Linked DNA regions of Homo sapiens: region 2 is linked to region 1. The links are contacts of gene promoters, found by promoter capture Hi-C in human tissues and cell types (Jung and others, 2019). All regions are on one chromosome and are shown on one strand. Each heading gives the region's core, a stretch centred on a gene start or on the middle of the fragment in contact. The rest is flanking DNA. Distances are from core to core; before and after follow the strand shown.

Region 1 (6,478 bases), core at 561-3,060:
GGCAACAAGGGCAAGACTTCGTCTAAAAAAAAAAAAAAAAAGTTCATAGCAGTATACATTAAAAAATTGTACTGTATACACTTCGGGAGGCCGAGGCGGGTGGATCACCTGAGGTTGGGAGTTCGAGACCAGCCTGACCAACATGGCGAAACCCCGTCTCTACTAAAATACAAAAAATTAGCCGGGCATGGTGGCGCGTGCCTGTAGTCCCAGCTACTCGGGAGGCTGCGGCAGGAGAATAGCTTGAACCCGGGAGGCGGAGGTTGCAGTGAGCCGACATCCCACCACTGCACTCCAGCCTGGCGACAGAGCAAGACTCTGTCTCAAAAAAAAAAAAAAAAAAAAAAAAAAAAAAGCCAGGCGCGGTGGCTCACGCCTGTAATCCCAACACTTGGGGAGGCCGAGGCAGGTAGATCACAAGGTCAGGAGTTTGAGGCCAGCCTGACCAACATGGTGAAACCTCGTCTCTACTAAAAATACAAAAATTAGCCGGGCGTGGTGGCAAATGCCTGTAATCCCAGCTACTCGGGAGGCTGAGGCAGGAGAATTGCTTGAATCCAGGAGACAGAGGTTGCAGTGAGCCGAGATTGCGCCACAGCACTCCAGCCTGGGTGACAAGAGTGAGACTTTGTCTCCAAAAAAAAAAAATTGTACTGTATAACAGTTGTAAAAATAAAAAACGTTAAACAGTAAGGTGCATGTACATTTCACGATTCTGTGGCAAACACAGATGCGTATATGCTCCTCAGCCTACGCAGGGACTATTTTATTTCTTATGCACATCCTCTCCAAACTACACACTTTTCCTTTGCTACTTCAGCCTGACACCTAAGACATGACTAAGACAGAATGCGAGGTTGATTTTCTGGAGACAATCGCCACCCCCTTCCTCGCCCTCTCTCCTTTCTGTCTCTTCCTGGTTTCCCCACCTCTCCCCTGTTCTTGCGTTCTCGTGTTTCTCACGCCCTGTGTCATGGCCTCCTCCGTCTTCTCCTCCTACTCTGTCTCTGTCTCCTGCCGGGGCCCGGGGTGCCCGACCGCAGCCTTGGGCCACCCTGAGTCCCTGCAGGCGGCCCTGAGGCCGGGGTGGCTTCCGCATGGGGTCTCTGCCCAAGGCCGTTCTCTGCTAAGGAAGGAGCGTGGCCGCCCGGGGAGCCCGGAGGGCTCTAGACCCACGGCGACCGGACCTGGTGGGCGGACCCCGCCTCCGCGTCCCCGGCGGGACAAGCATGGGGCCCCCACGGCCTCCGCGCCCCCGGCGGGACGGATGCCCCGGGCCACCGCGGGCAGCGCGCGCCCCCCACCCACTTTCCGGCCTCGCTGGATTCCCGGGACCCCCTCACAGACGAAGCCTGTCTCGGGGGCGGCTTTGGGAGGAACCGCACCGGAGGTTCCCCTCTCGCTGCCTCTCAGTCTGGGTTTCTGTGGAGCGCGTCTCCCTGTCCCTGTCCCTGATCTCTCCCTGTCCCTGTCCCTGATCTCTCCATGTCCTGCCCCTCCGTTTCCCCTCCGGCCAGCTCCTCAGCTTGTCTCTGACCGCTTCCCTCCCCAGATCCCGGGAATCCGAGGGTCCCTCAAAGACCGGCGTGCTGCGGCCTGCTCTGAGGGCGCCCGGGCCCCTGGGTCCCTCCTCTGAGGACCGACGCTCAGGCAGCGCCGCTTCTTCCTCCCGCAGGAGGCGCTGTAGGACTGAGCGGCAGCCGCGGCCGGGCGCCGGGTCCCAGCATGCACCGCGCCCGGCCGGCGCTGCGTTTGGGGGCCACCCGGGCTGTGCGTGGGAGTCGGGTTGGGGCGGAGCGGAGGGGAGTCAGTGCGCAGCAGGGCAGGTTCCTGCGGAGCCGCCGGAGACGGTCGGGTTTGCCAGGGCCGGGCGGGACCGCGGGGACCATGGCGGAGCCGCCTCGGGTAAGCGGGCTAGCCTGTTTGGACGCCCGGTTTCGGGGTCGTGGTGGGTCCTCGGGTTCCGGGCTCGCCCGTGTCCTGGGGTCCCCGTGAGTGCGCGCGGTGCACGGGTAGGACGGAGTCTGCAGGCTGCTTCTGCTGGGGATGTGGATTCCGGGCCCTGCGGTGAGCAGGTGGCCTCCGCTCCCGCGGCTTGTCCGTGGCCAAACCCCTGGACAAAGCCGAGCGTGGACCGAGGCCGACCTAGGAGCGGGGCGGAGCCTGGGCGAGGATGCCGGGCGGACGGGGAGCGGACGGTGGAAAGGATAGAAAGGTTTGGGGCCAGAGGTGGATGTTACAGGTCAACCAGTTTTACATCATAGTCACCGAAATCAGAACAACTGTTCCAAAAAGTTTAAGATTCCGAATGGTTGAAATGGTGTTTGGCGGGGGCTTCAATGTCAGAATTTATTGTCTAGCGTGATTTGGGTTGAGTGTAAGATGATACGTTGGGAAGAGTAGAAGAGGATACAAAAAATTAAGTTAGTGGTTTCTTAAAATCGAGGTTTAGAGGGTATTTTTATCTTGTAAACTTTAATGTTGAGGATTTTTGCTGATTATTAAATGAATTAGGCCGGGCGCGGTGGCTCACGCCTGTAATCCCAGCACTTTGGGAGGCCGAGGCGGGTGGATCACGTGAGGTCGGGAGTTCGAGACCAGCCTGGCCAACATGGTGAAACCCCAACTCTACTAAAAATACAAAAAATTAGCCTGGCATGATGGCGGGCGCCTGTAATCCCAGCTACTCGGGAGGCTCAGGCAGGAGAATTGTTTGAACCCGGGAGACGGAGGTTGCAGTGAGCCGAGACTGCACCATTGCACTCCAGCCTGGGCAACAAGAGCGAAACTCCGTCTCCAAAAATATATACATACCTATATATATGGGGAAAGGATATAAACAGCCAAATCACAGACCTGAAAATAAATTATTAATGAGTAAAAGAATGGATTTTAAAACTTGTGACATTCAGGCCAGGCGCCGTGGTTTACGCCTGTAATCCCAGCACTTTGAGAGGCCGAGGTGGGCAGATCACTTGACGTCAGGAGTTCAAGACCAGCCTGGCCAACATGGCGAAAAACTGTCTCTACTAAAAAATACGAAAATTAGCTGAGTGTGGTGGCGGACGCCTGTAATCCCAGCTCCTCGGGAGGCTGAGGTAGGGAGAATTGCTTGAACTCGGGAGGTGGAGGTTGCAGCGAACTGAGATGGCGCCACTGCACTCCAGCCTGGGCGACAGAGCGAGACTCTATCTCAAAAACAAACAAACTTGTGACATTCAGACGGTGGAACACTATACAAAATTAAAATAAATTAGCTACATATATGATCAACAGGGCCGGGCGTGGTGGCTCACGCCTCTAATCCCAGCACTTTGGGAGGCCAAGGCGGGCGGATCACGAGATCAGGAGATCGAGACCATCCTAGCTAACACGGTGAAACCCCGTCTCTACTAAAAATACAAAAACAAAAATTAGCTGGGCGTGTGGGCGGGAGCCTGTAGTCCCAGCTGCTCGGGAGGCTGAGGCGGGAGAACCCGGGAGGCGGAGCTTGCAGCGAGCCGAGATCGCGCCACTGCACTCCAGCCTGGGCGACAGAGCAAGACTCTGTCTCCAAAAAAAAAAAAAAAAGAAACTCAACAGGGCCAGATCCCAAAATGTTGAGGGAAGAATACAAGTATAATAAAGTATTTACGTATAAAAGACACAAAGTAATACTGAATATTTACAGATACATATATGTATTAAAATGAACTGGAAAGTTCCCATATTATTTATAATGTTTGCCTTTACAAAGGAAGGAGAATGTGACAATATCAGAACATGATTGAAGAGAGGAACCACAAGAACTTGAGTTTCACCGGTCACATTCTATTTCATTAAAAGGAACTCTGAAGAAAAATGTTAAACTTGTTAAGTCAGTGGTGAATACTAGGATGCTTATAGTTTTCTCTGTAACTCTCTGGATTTTTAAACTTCTAAAAATTAAAAAAGTTTTAAAAGTAAGGAATTTTAATCAGAGAAGAGGAGAGAATGAGTATCTTTAACACAAGTATAAACATACGTTCAGTTCTGCAATAATACAGCATATGCATTTCTAAAAATCATAGTGCTATGCAAAATTGTGCAATAAAAACCACAGAGCTTATTGGGAGAAATGTTACACATACAATACTCAAACTTTAATCAGTGATGTGTTGAAAGAACCTAAAAGCAGTTTTATGCACTTTAATGAGTAATAAATTATCTCAATTGCCTTAAAAACTGCCTGAAATAAGCCTGGGCAGGCCAGGCGTGGTGGCTCACACCTGTAATCCCAGCACTTTGGGAGGTCCAGGTGGGCAGATCACCTGAGGTCAGGAATTCAAGACCAGCCTGGCCAACATGGTGAAATCTCATCTCTACTAAAAATAAAAAAATTAGCTGGACGTGGTGGCGGGCACCTGTAATCCCAGATACTCGAGAGGCTGAGGCAGGAGAATCACTTGAACCTCGGAGGCGGAGGTTGCAGTGAGCTGAGATCGTGTCAATGCATTCCAGCCTGGGTGACAGAGCAAGACTCGGTCTCGAAAGAAAGACAAAAAAAAAAAAAAAAGCCTGGGCAACATGGTGAGACCCCTCTCTACAGAAAATTAGCCAGGTGTGGTGGCATATCCCTGTGGTCCTAGCTACTCGGGAGGCTAAGGCAACAGAATCACTTGAGCCCAGGAGATCAAAGCTATGGTAAGCTGTGTTGGCACCACTGCACTCTGGCCTGGGCAACAGAGACCCCCGTTTCAAAAAAAAAAAAAACCTAAAAGAACTACCTGAAATGTGCTTGTGGAAGTGGGCATAGCAAGGGTTGCAGTTTGTGAGCTATTGTGAAGTGGTGAAAGGAAGGTTATCTGAAATGAGATGGAAAGTTGTGACCCCGGAGGTGAATGGGTAGGGCTCATAACACAGGGTAATCTGATGTTTGAAGTGTGTTGCATGTGTGCATTTTGCGTATGTCTATGCAGCCCAGTTCTGTTTGTTCACATAGTACAAAGTTTCTCACCCTTGCCACTACTAACATCCTGTGCTGGATAATTTTCTGTTTTGCAGGCTGTCCTGCGCATCGTAGGATGTTTATCACTATTCTTGGCTGCTACGCACTAGATGCCCATAGGCCACCCCGCTTCCCCACATTATAACAATAAAAAATGTTGCCAGGGGACAAAATTGTTCTGATTGAGAACCACTAATCTAGTGTTTCTTATAGACAGAATTGCACATAAGCAAATGCAAAATTTTGTAATATATTGTCTCCTAATAATCATGTTGGAACAAATTCACATTTCAAAACAAGGATTATAGCAGAAATGACTATATTTCCTTAAAGTTAAAATAATGAATTTCTGATTTAAGTGTTGCTATATCTGCAGTTTGGATATTTGTCCCTAAATCTCATGTCAAAATTGGATTTGCGGCTGGGCACAGTGGCTCACGCCTGTAATCCCAGCACTTTGGGAGGCTGAGGCAGGTGGATCACCTGAGGTCAGGAGTTCAAGACCAGCCTGACCAACAAGGTGAAACCCTGCCTCTACTAAAAATACAAAAATTAGCCGAGCATGTTGGCAGGCGCCTGTAGTCCCAGCTGCTTGGGAGGCCAAGACAGAATTGCTTGAACCTGGGAGGTGGAGGCTGCAGTGAGCTGAGATCGTGCCACTGCATTTCAGCCTGCCTGGGCGATGGAGCAAGACTCTATCTCAAAAAAAAAAAAAAAGGATCTGCGCTGTTGGAAGTGGGCTGTAATGGGAGGTGTTTAGGTCATGGGGGGTGGATCCCTCATGAATGTCTTGGTGCTGTCCTCTATTAGTTCCTGAGGGAGCTGGTTAAAAAGAGCCTGACATCCCCCCTTCTGTCTTGCTTCTTCTTGCCATGTGATCTGTGCACATGCCAGCTCACCTTTTGTGTGTATGTGTGTGTGTGTGTGTGTGTGTGAGACAGAGTGTCGCTCTGTCACCCACGCTGGAGTGCAATGGTGTGATACTGGCTCACTGCAATCTCTGCCTCCTGGGTTCAAGCGATTCTCCTGCCTCAGCCTCCCAAGTAGCCGGGATTACAGGCCCCTGCCACCACACCCAGCTAATTTTTGTATTTTTAGTAGGGACAGGGTTTAGCCATATTGGCAAAGCTGGTATTGAACTTCTGACCTCAGGTGATCTGCTCACCTTGGCCTCCCAAAGTGCTGGGATTACAGGTGTAAGCCACCGTGCCCAGCCCCCTTCACCTTCCATCATGAACAAAAGCCATCTGAGGCCCTCGCCAGAAGTAGATGCTGGTGATGTGCTTCTTATACAGCCTGCAGAACTGTGAACCAAATAAACCTCTTTTCTTTAAAAATTACCCCACCTTGGTGTTCCTTTACAGCAATACTAAACAGACTAAGACAAATTTAAAGGAGTCAGAGTTTTTAAAACTCAACTCTAAATTTCATAATGAATATAACAAAAAGATGGGAAGTCCTAGCCAGAGCAGTGTGGCAAGAGAAAGAAATAAAAGTCATCCAAATAGAAAT
Region 2 (6,554 bases), core at 393-2,892, 89 kb after region 1:
ATGCCACAAAACTGAGCAGGACCAAGGAAGAGCTTTGAAGGCCTGAGGTCTGCGGAAGGTGGGAGGAGGCAGACGCCCTGCGTGGCCCATGGTCGGGGCGTCCACGCCGAGGCCGGCAACAAACGACAGTATCTCGGATTCCTTTTTTTTTTTTTTTAATTTTTTATACTTTGGTGTTTCACTTCATGCTCTGAATACTGAATAACCATGAATGACTGAATAGTTTAGTCCAGATTTTTACAGAGGATACATCTATTTTTATCATTATTTGGGGTTTGAAAAATTTTTTTTTACACCTTCTAATTTCTTTATTTCTCAAAGCAGATAATTCTTCTGTGTGAAAATGTTTTCTTTTTTTAATTTAAGGTTTAAAATTCCTTTTCCAAATCATGTTGATTTTGCTCTTTGCTTTTTCGTTGTCTGAGAAATTGTTGGCGTAGATTTGGCTTCTGGTATGTGTTTCTGATTGCTTCCTGTTGAGCACAAAGTGAGAGCTGCCACTGAGCAGCCCTGCCAGGGGTGCTGTTTCAGGCTGGGCATCGCCAGGCGGCCTCCCTGCAAACCAAGGGCTGGGGGCAAAGGGGCATGATCCAGGGTCCCCCAGGGTGGGCTCAGCTCCAGGGAGAGGCCACCCACGTGGCAGCCCCACCTCTTGAGAGCCCCCAGTGCCGGAGCAGAAAGGACCCTGGACCCAGAGGCAGATACTGCGGGGTGGTAGAAAAGGTAGAGTAGGCTGTGGCAATGGAATAAAACACGATTAAAAACGTTAAGAACTGCGTTAGAAAACATCTGATCTGTGCTGCTGGGAGCCTCGGGGTGGGGCAGGAGCTGGATGTAGCTAAGCCCTGCAGAGGCCTGGCAGTAGCCCCCACCTCCTTCCAGACACAGGTGGGTGGAGATCATCCTGACCTAGGCTGAGGAGCTTCAGAGGTCTCCCCTCAGCGCTTCTCCTGGGGTGGCGGCTCCGCTGGACCGGCGCTTGTGTAGAGGTGGTTCTGTGCCATAAGGGTTCCAGGGCATTTGAGTAAGACCTGGGCTTCATTTCATCACAGGCTTGTTCGAGATGAGCCATCACCGTCCTCACCCCGCGCCTCCCCCGTCACTCAGCTGCTCCCAATTGTGGCTGAAGAGTGGCAAGGGTGAAACCTTGCGCTGACGGCAGCTCCTGCAGCAGTGACACGTGTGTGTTGGGGGTGGTGGGGGCAGGAGGCATTGGGTCTCCCAGGAAGGGGCAGCCTTGGTGGACTTACCCAATTATCCGCTGTAAAGTTAAGCCTGGCCAGGGCAGGCTGGGAGATGATCCGCTGTAGAGTTAAGCCTGGCCAGGGCAGGCTGGGAGTTGTGGGTGGGCCGTGCTCTGTAAGTTCCCTGTGTGATGAGAAGTCTCTGCACCCACCCCCATCCCCACCCCCAACCATCGTGCCCTCCCTCACATCAGGAGAGCAGGTGGCCCTCAGTCCTGGGATGGGCCCTTTCTTCAAGGCCCTTCCCCTCAACACTGGCGAAAAGCTTGGAGTTGTGACCTGGGGTAGGGCAGCGGTTAAGGCTGTTTCCGGAAGCAGAAGTCCATTCGTTCAGCGCTCTACCATGAGAACAAAGTGATTCCTGTCCTGGTAGGGCTCCCATGGGTTCAAAGGGCCCTGAGGAAGACAGCCCCTCTCTGGGGAGGAGCAGCAGTGTGACCTCACTTCGTGTAGGTGTCAGGGAAGCCCTGCTCTGAAGTGACATCTAAGCCAAGACCCTCGGGAGAAGTTGGCTTGAGCTGATGGCAAAAAAGGAGTGTCCAGGGACCTGCAGCTTTGGTATCACTGGGATGTCTGTCAGAACTGTAGAGTCTCAGGCTGGGCCCCGGTCCTACTGAATTATTCTGCGTATAAGAAGATCCCAGGAGGGTCACAGGCATATTGAAGTCTGGGAAATACCAGGAGTAAATGTTCCAGGCTTGGGGCCAGCATGTGCAAAGGCCCTGAGGCAAAAATCAAAATGTTTCCTCTTTGGAAATAGTCTGGAAGTCGGGTAGCCCAAGAGTGTCTTAACTGAGTCAGCTCCCTCTACATTGCCTGCAAAAGGCGGGACCACTGAAGGAATTTACCCTGGACCTGTGAGGGACCTCAGAAAGGAGACGGGCAAGTAGGTTGATGACAGCCCAGCGTGATCGGTGCCACGATGAAGGTATGTACGGGGCCATGGGAACCCAAGAGGGGACTGTCCCAGCTGCAGGCCTGGAGAGGCCGACTCAGGAGCTGGGAGGAGGAGGAGGAGGAAGCAAACTTCCCTCCTTCCCCTTCACCAGCCACGGAGCACTGTGCAAGGAGGCTGGGTTGCTGAGGGTAGGAGAGGCAGGGCCAGGTTGGGGGGCCTGCATTCAGGAGCTTGACCTTTATGTTAGTTTGCAGGGAACCATTGATGGTTTCCAGCAGGGAGGTGATGTGATGAGATTGAGATTGATGACGAGTAACAGTTAACATTTATCTCGCCTTAAGCAAAAGCCAGAACCCATGTTGAGCATTGCCAGATTGTCTCATTAAGTGACCTGTGAGGTAGGTTCTTGCGTTCATTTTACAGCTAGAAAGGAGGGGGATGTGGGGCTGAGTAGCAAACAGAGTGGGGATGTGAGCGCAGGCCACTCTCAATGCTGTGGCACCTCCCTCAGGAGCAAGGGAGCGAGGGTGGGCTGCATTGTGGGTGGCCAGTGGGTCTCAGGGATAAGGGGGCAGGATCTCCAGGGCTCTGAGACTGATCAGATGCTGAGGGTGGGTGAGTGGACCCAAGAAGACGGATAAGATGCCCAGGTTTCTGAATGAAGGGTTTTGTCACTTATGAAACTTTTCAGCATATGCAAAAGTAAAGAGACTAGGATAATACACACCCTTTACTCATCACCCACCTAAAACAAAATGTTGCTCCATGTTTAAACCTGTGCCTATCCCACCCTGCCCGCCCCTTTTTTTTTTTTGAGGATATGATGGAGGAAGGACAGGTCTTGCCTGTCTAGGTCATATCACCTCTGCCTCATAGAAAAGGAAGCAGAGGTCAGATAGTAAAGAATTTCCCCCAGAGCCACAGGGTGGGTAAACTGGGAAGCTGGAGCGGAACTCAGAACAGGTGTCCTTCAGTGCATCAGCAGCTCCTAGAACGTGTTGAAGCCTTCTGAAGGAGGTTAGTATGCACTCCACTAGAGTAGAATCTGTGAGTTACTTGGCTTGGGAAATAATGGAGCTCAAACAAATAAAACTTCCGTGGGGTTCTTGGGTGAAGAGCCTCTCAGAGCCTGTAGCCCCGGCAGGCCAGGCCTCCCTCCAGGAGATGGATAGGACCTTTGACTTCAAGGTCCCTGGCTTTGACTACACATCCCACAGATCCACGAGTTCCCGAATGATCAGCTCTCCTAACACGTAAGTCTCGTCAGCTGAGTCTGTCTTCTGAGCACACACCTGCCCTTGGAAGGACCAAGGCATCCCCTGTCAAGGTGGGCCAGCCCTAGGGTAAGGGCTGTGAGCTAGGAAGGGCTCCAGGAGCCCCATGGACAAATCTGACCCTCCAGGCCACCAGGTGCACAACCTCAGACCCTACCCGGTGCAGCAAAGGGATTAAACTCGAGTGGACATGATTGATTATTTGATTCCTACTATAATGAATTAAAGAGGTACACTCATGCACTGAGTAATGACATTTCTGTCAATGATGGACCACATTTATGACAGTGGTCCCATAAAATTATAGCGGAGCTGAAAAATTTCTTTCACTTAGTGATGATGTAGCCTTCATAACGTCATAGCAAAATTACCGTATTTTTTTTATTTATTTTTCTTTGAGACGGAGTCTCGCTCTGTCGCCTAGGCTGGAGTGCAGTGATGCATTCTCAGCTCACTGCAAGCTCCGCCTCCCGGGTTCAAGCAATTATTCTGCCTCAGCCTCTCGAGTAGCTGGGACTACAGGTGCGTGCTACCATGCCCGGCTAATTTTTGTGTTTTTATCAGAGATGGGGTTTCACCATATTGGCCAGGCTGGTCTTGAACTCCTGACCTCAGGTGATCCTCCTGCCTCAGCCTCCCAAAGTGCTGGGATTACAGGCATGAACCACCACGGCTGGCCGCTACCGTATTTTAAAAATAAATGTAGCGTGGCCTAAGCTTGCGGTGCTTATAAAGTCTACAGTCGTGGACGGTAAACTCTGAGGCCTTCACATTCACTCACCACTCACTGACTCACCCAGAACAACTTCCAGTCCGACAAGCTCCATTCATAGAAAGTACTCTTTATAGGCATACTGTTTTAATCTTTTACACCATATTCTTACTGTACATTTTCTATGCATAGATACACAAATGCTTACAATAGCACAAGTGCATGCTGTACAGGTTTGTAGCCTAGGAGCGATACACTATACCGTACAGCCAGGGTGTATAGTGGGCTGTACCATCAGGGTCTGTGGAAATGCACTCTGATATTCACACAATGCCAGAATCGCCTAACAATGCATTTCTCAGTACATGTTCCTGTTACTAAGTGACATGACTGTATTTAATGTTTATTCAGTATTCAGTATAGTTTTTAGTACTTAGTGTTTTTAAATCTTGCAGAAAGCTTGGGAAGCAAAAGTGAGAGGTAGGGCCGGGCGCGGTGGTTCATGCCTGTAATCCCAGCACTGTGGGAGGCTAAGGTTAGGCAGATCACCTCAGGTCAGTAGTTCGAGACCAGCCTGGCCAACATGGTGAAACCCTGTCTCTACTACAAATACAAAAATTAGCCCGGTGAGGTGACGGGCGCCTGTAATCTCAGCTACCCAGGAGGCTGAGGCAGGAGAATCGCTGGAACCTGGGAGGTAGAGGCTGCAGTAAGCCGAGATTGACCCACTGCACTCCAGTCTGGGTGATAGAGTGAGGCTCCGTCTCAAAAAAAAAAAAAATAGAGGTGGAACGGGGAGGCCGCCCAGGGCCAGCGCATAGTAACTGCACACCTTTTGAATGAGTAAATGGAGAACTGTAGATTCTTGGGAAGCCCAGGCTTGAGGGGCCAGATATGGAAGGGGCTCTCTTACCTAAGCCAGAGCCTCCCGTCAGCCACACCACTCGCTCCACACTCTTTTCACTCGGCTCAGCACAAGGCAAGATGAGCACAGCTCTTGAATTCAACGTGTTCTCATCTTAGATTACAGAGAGACTGTGGAAGAGGGAGGAGGACAAAGGACCTCTAGTTCAAAAGTAAAAACTGAGAAGTTTTTCTTTTCTTTCTTTTTTTTTTTTTTCAAGACAGTCTCGCTCTGTCATCCAAGGCTGGAGTGTAGTGGCACAATCTCAGGTCACTGCAACTTCCATTTCCCAGGTTCAAGCAATTCTCGTGCCTCAGCGTAGCTGGGATTACTGGCATGCCCCACCATGCCTGGCTAATTTTTTTTGTATTTTTAGTAGACAGTTTCACCATGTTGACCAGGCTGGTCTCGAACTCCTGACCTCAAATGATCCGCCTGCCTTGGCCTCCCAAAGTGCTGGGGTTACAGACGTGAGCCAGAAGGGGATTTTTTAGAAAACAGCTTGGAGAAGGAGTCGTGGGAAAGGAGTCAATTTTTTTTTTTTTTTTTAATTTTTTGAGACAGGGTCTCACTCTGTCCCCCTGGCTGGAGTGCAGTGGCACAATCATGGCTCACTGCAGCCTTGGCCTCCCAGGCTCAGGTAATCCTCCCACTTCAGCCTCCCAAGTAAACTGGGACTACAGGTGTGCACTACCACACCCAGCTAAGTTTTTGTGTGTGTGTTTTTTTTTTTTTTTGTAGAGATGAGATCTCACTATGTTGCCTAGACTGGTCTCAAACACCTGGGCTCAAGTGATCCGCCTGCCTTGGCCTCCCAAAGTGCTGAGATTACAAATGTGAGCCACCATTCCCATTCCCTTCTATCTATTCTTTCTGGCTTTTCTCATCTATTAACAGCAAGTGTAGGCTCAGATCAGGTTAAATTGAAAACATGCCTTTGAATCCTCCCTCCCCAATCTGCTACAAAAGTCTCCTACTTGGAACTCATGGACAGTTGGGTTCGCTGGAGGCCAGAGGTTGAAACCTCCAGTGTTCAAGGGACCTGGCAGGCAAGGTTAAGTGCGGCAAGGGGTGATGGGGAGTGGTGGCGACCCGGGTGCACTTGAGGTCCTCTGTCCTGCCTGAAGTGGGTGCTGCTGCTTGGCCCCAGGCACTTGTTGCAGGTGGGAATCTGAGCCTGCTGTTACTCTTTGGTTTTTCAAGAAAAGCCAGGCATTTTTATGTGAAATCACCCAATTTTTAAGTGTCAGATCTAACTCAAATGGTCTTATCAACACTGGATAGGCCAAAGAAAGGCACTTAAGGGCTGTATTTAGTTAGAGACATCTGATCTAAGTCAACATCACCCTTTTTTTTTCCTCATAGTATTAAAACCCCAAGAAACAAACCAGCACACAGGATCCCCCGATTGTAACAAAGGTTTAAAAATGGAGGAGTTCCCTTAGAAAAGCTGAAGATTCCAATCTGGAGCTGCAGTTGAGGCTGCAGTCAGGGTTGTTTGGCTGGATTACTGAGTGCACGG

The links. The method cuts DNA at HindIII sites, captures the fragments that hold promoters and counts their contacts. A contact is called where the count stands out against the background at its distance.
Region 2: a fragment that was not itself captured here is called in contact with the fragment with the promoter of ZNF786 in region 1 in 2 of the 25 tissues and cell types used here (heart right ventricle and pancreas).

The regions. Positions count from the first base shown.
Region 1 is chr7:149,086,050-149,092,527 of GRCh38, reverse strand. ZNF786 (zinc finger protein 786) reads left to right here and starts at 1,810. Exons shown (of 4, transcript NM_152411.4): 1 at 1,810-1,905. The coding sequence starts at 1,888. RefSeq lists silencers at 959-1,448, 1,569-1,868. The HindIII fragment of the contact is 46,746 bases long and covers 1-6,478 here.
Region 2 is chr7:148,997,278-149,003,831 of GRCh38, reverse strand. It overlaps PDIA4 (protein disulfide isomerase family A member 4), which reads left to right. Exons shown (of 10, transcript NM_004911.5): 10 at 1-770. The coding sequence ends at 38. Among named protein-coding and RNA genes, the nearest start is that of GHET1, 13 kb to the right of the region's middle. The HindIII fragment of the contact is 5,437 bases long and covers 1-4,360 here.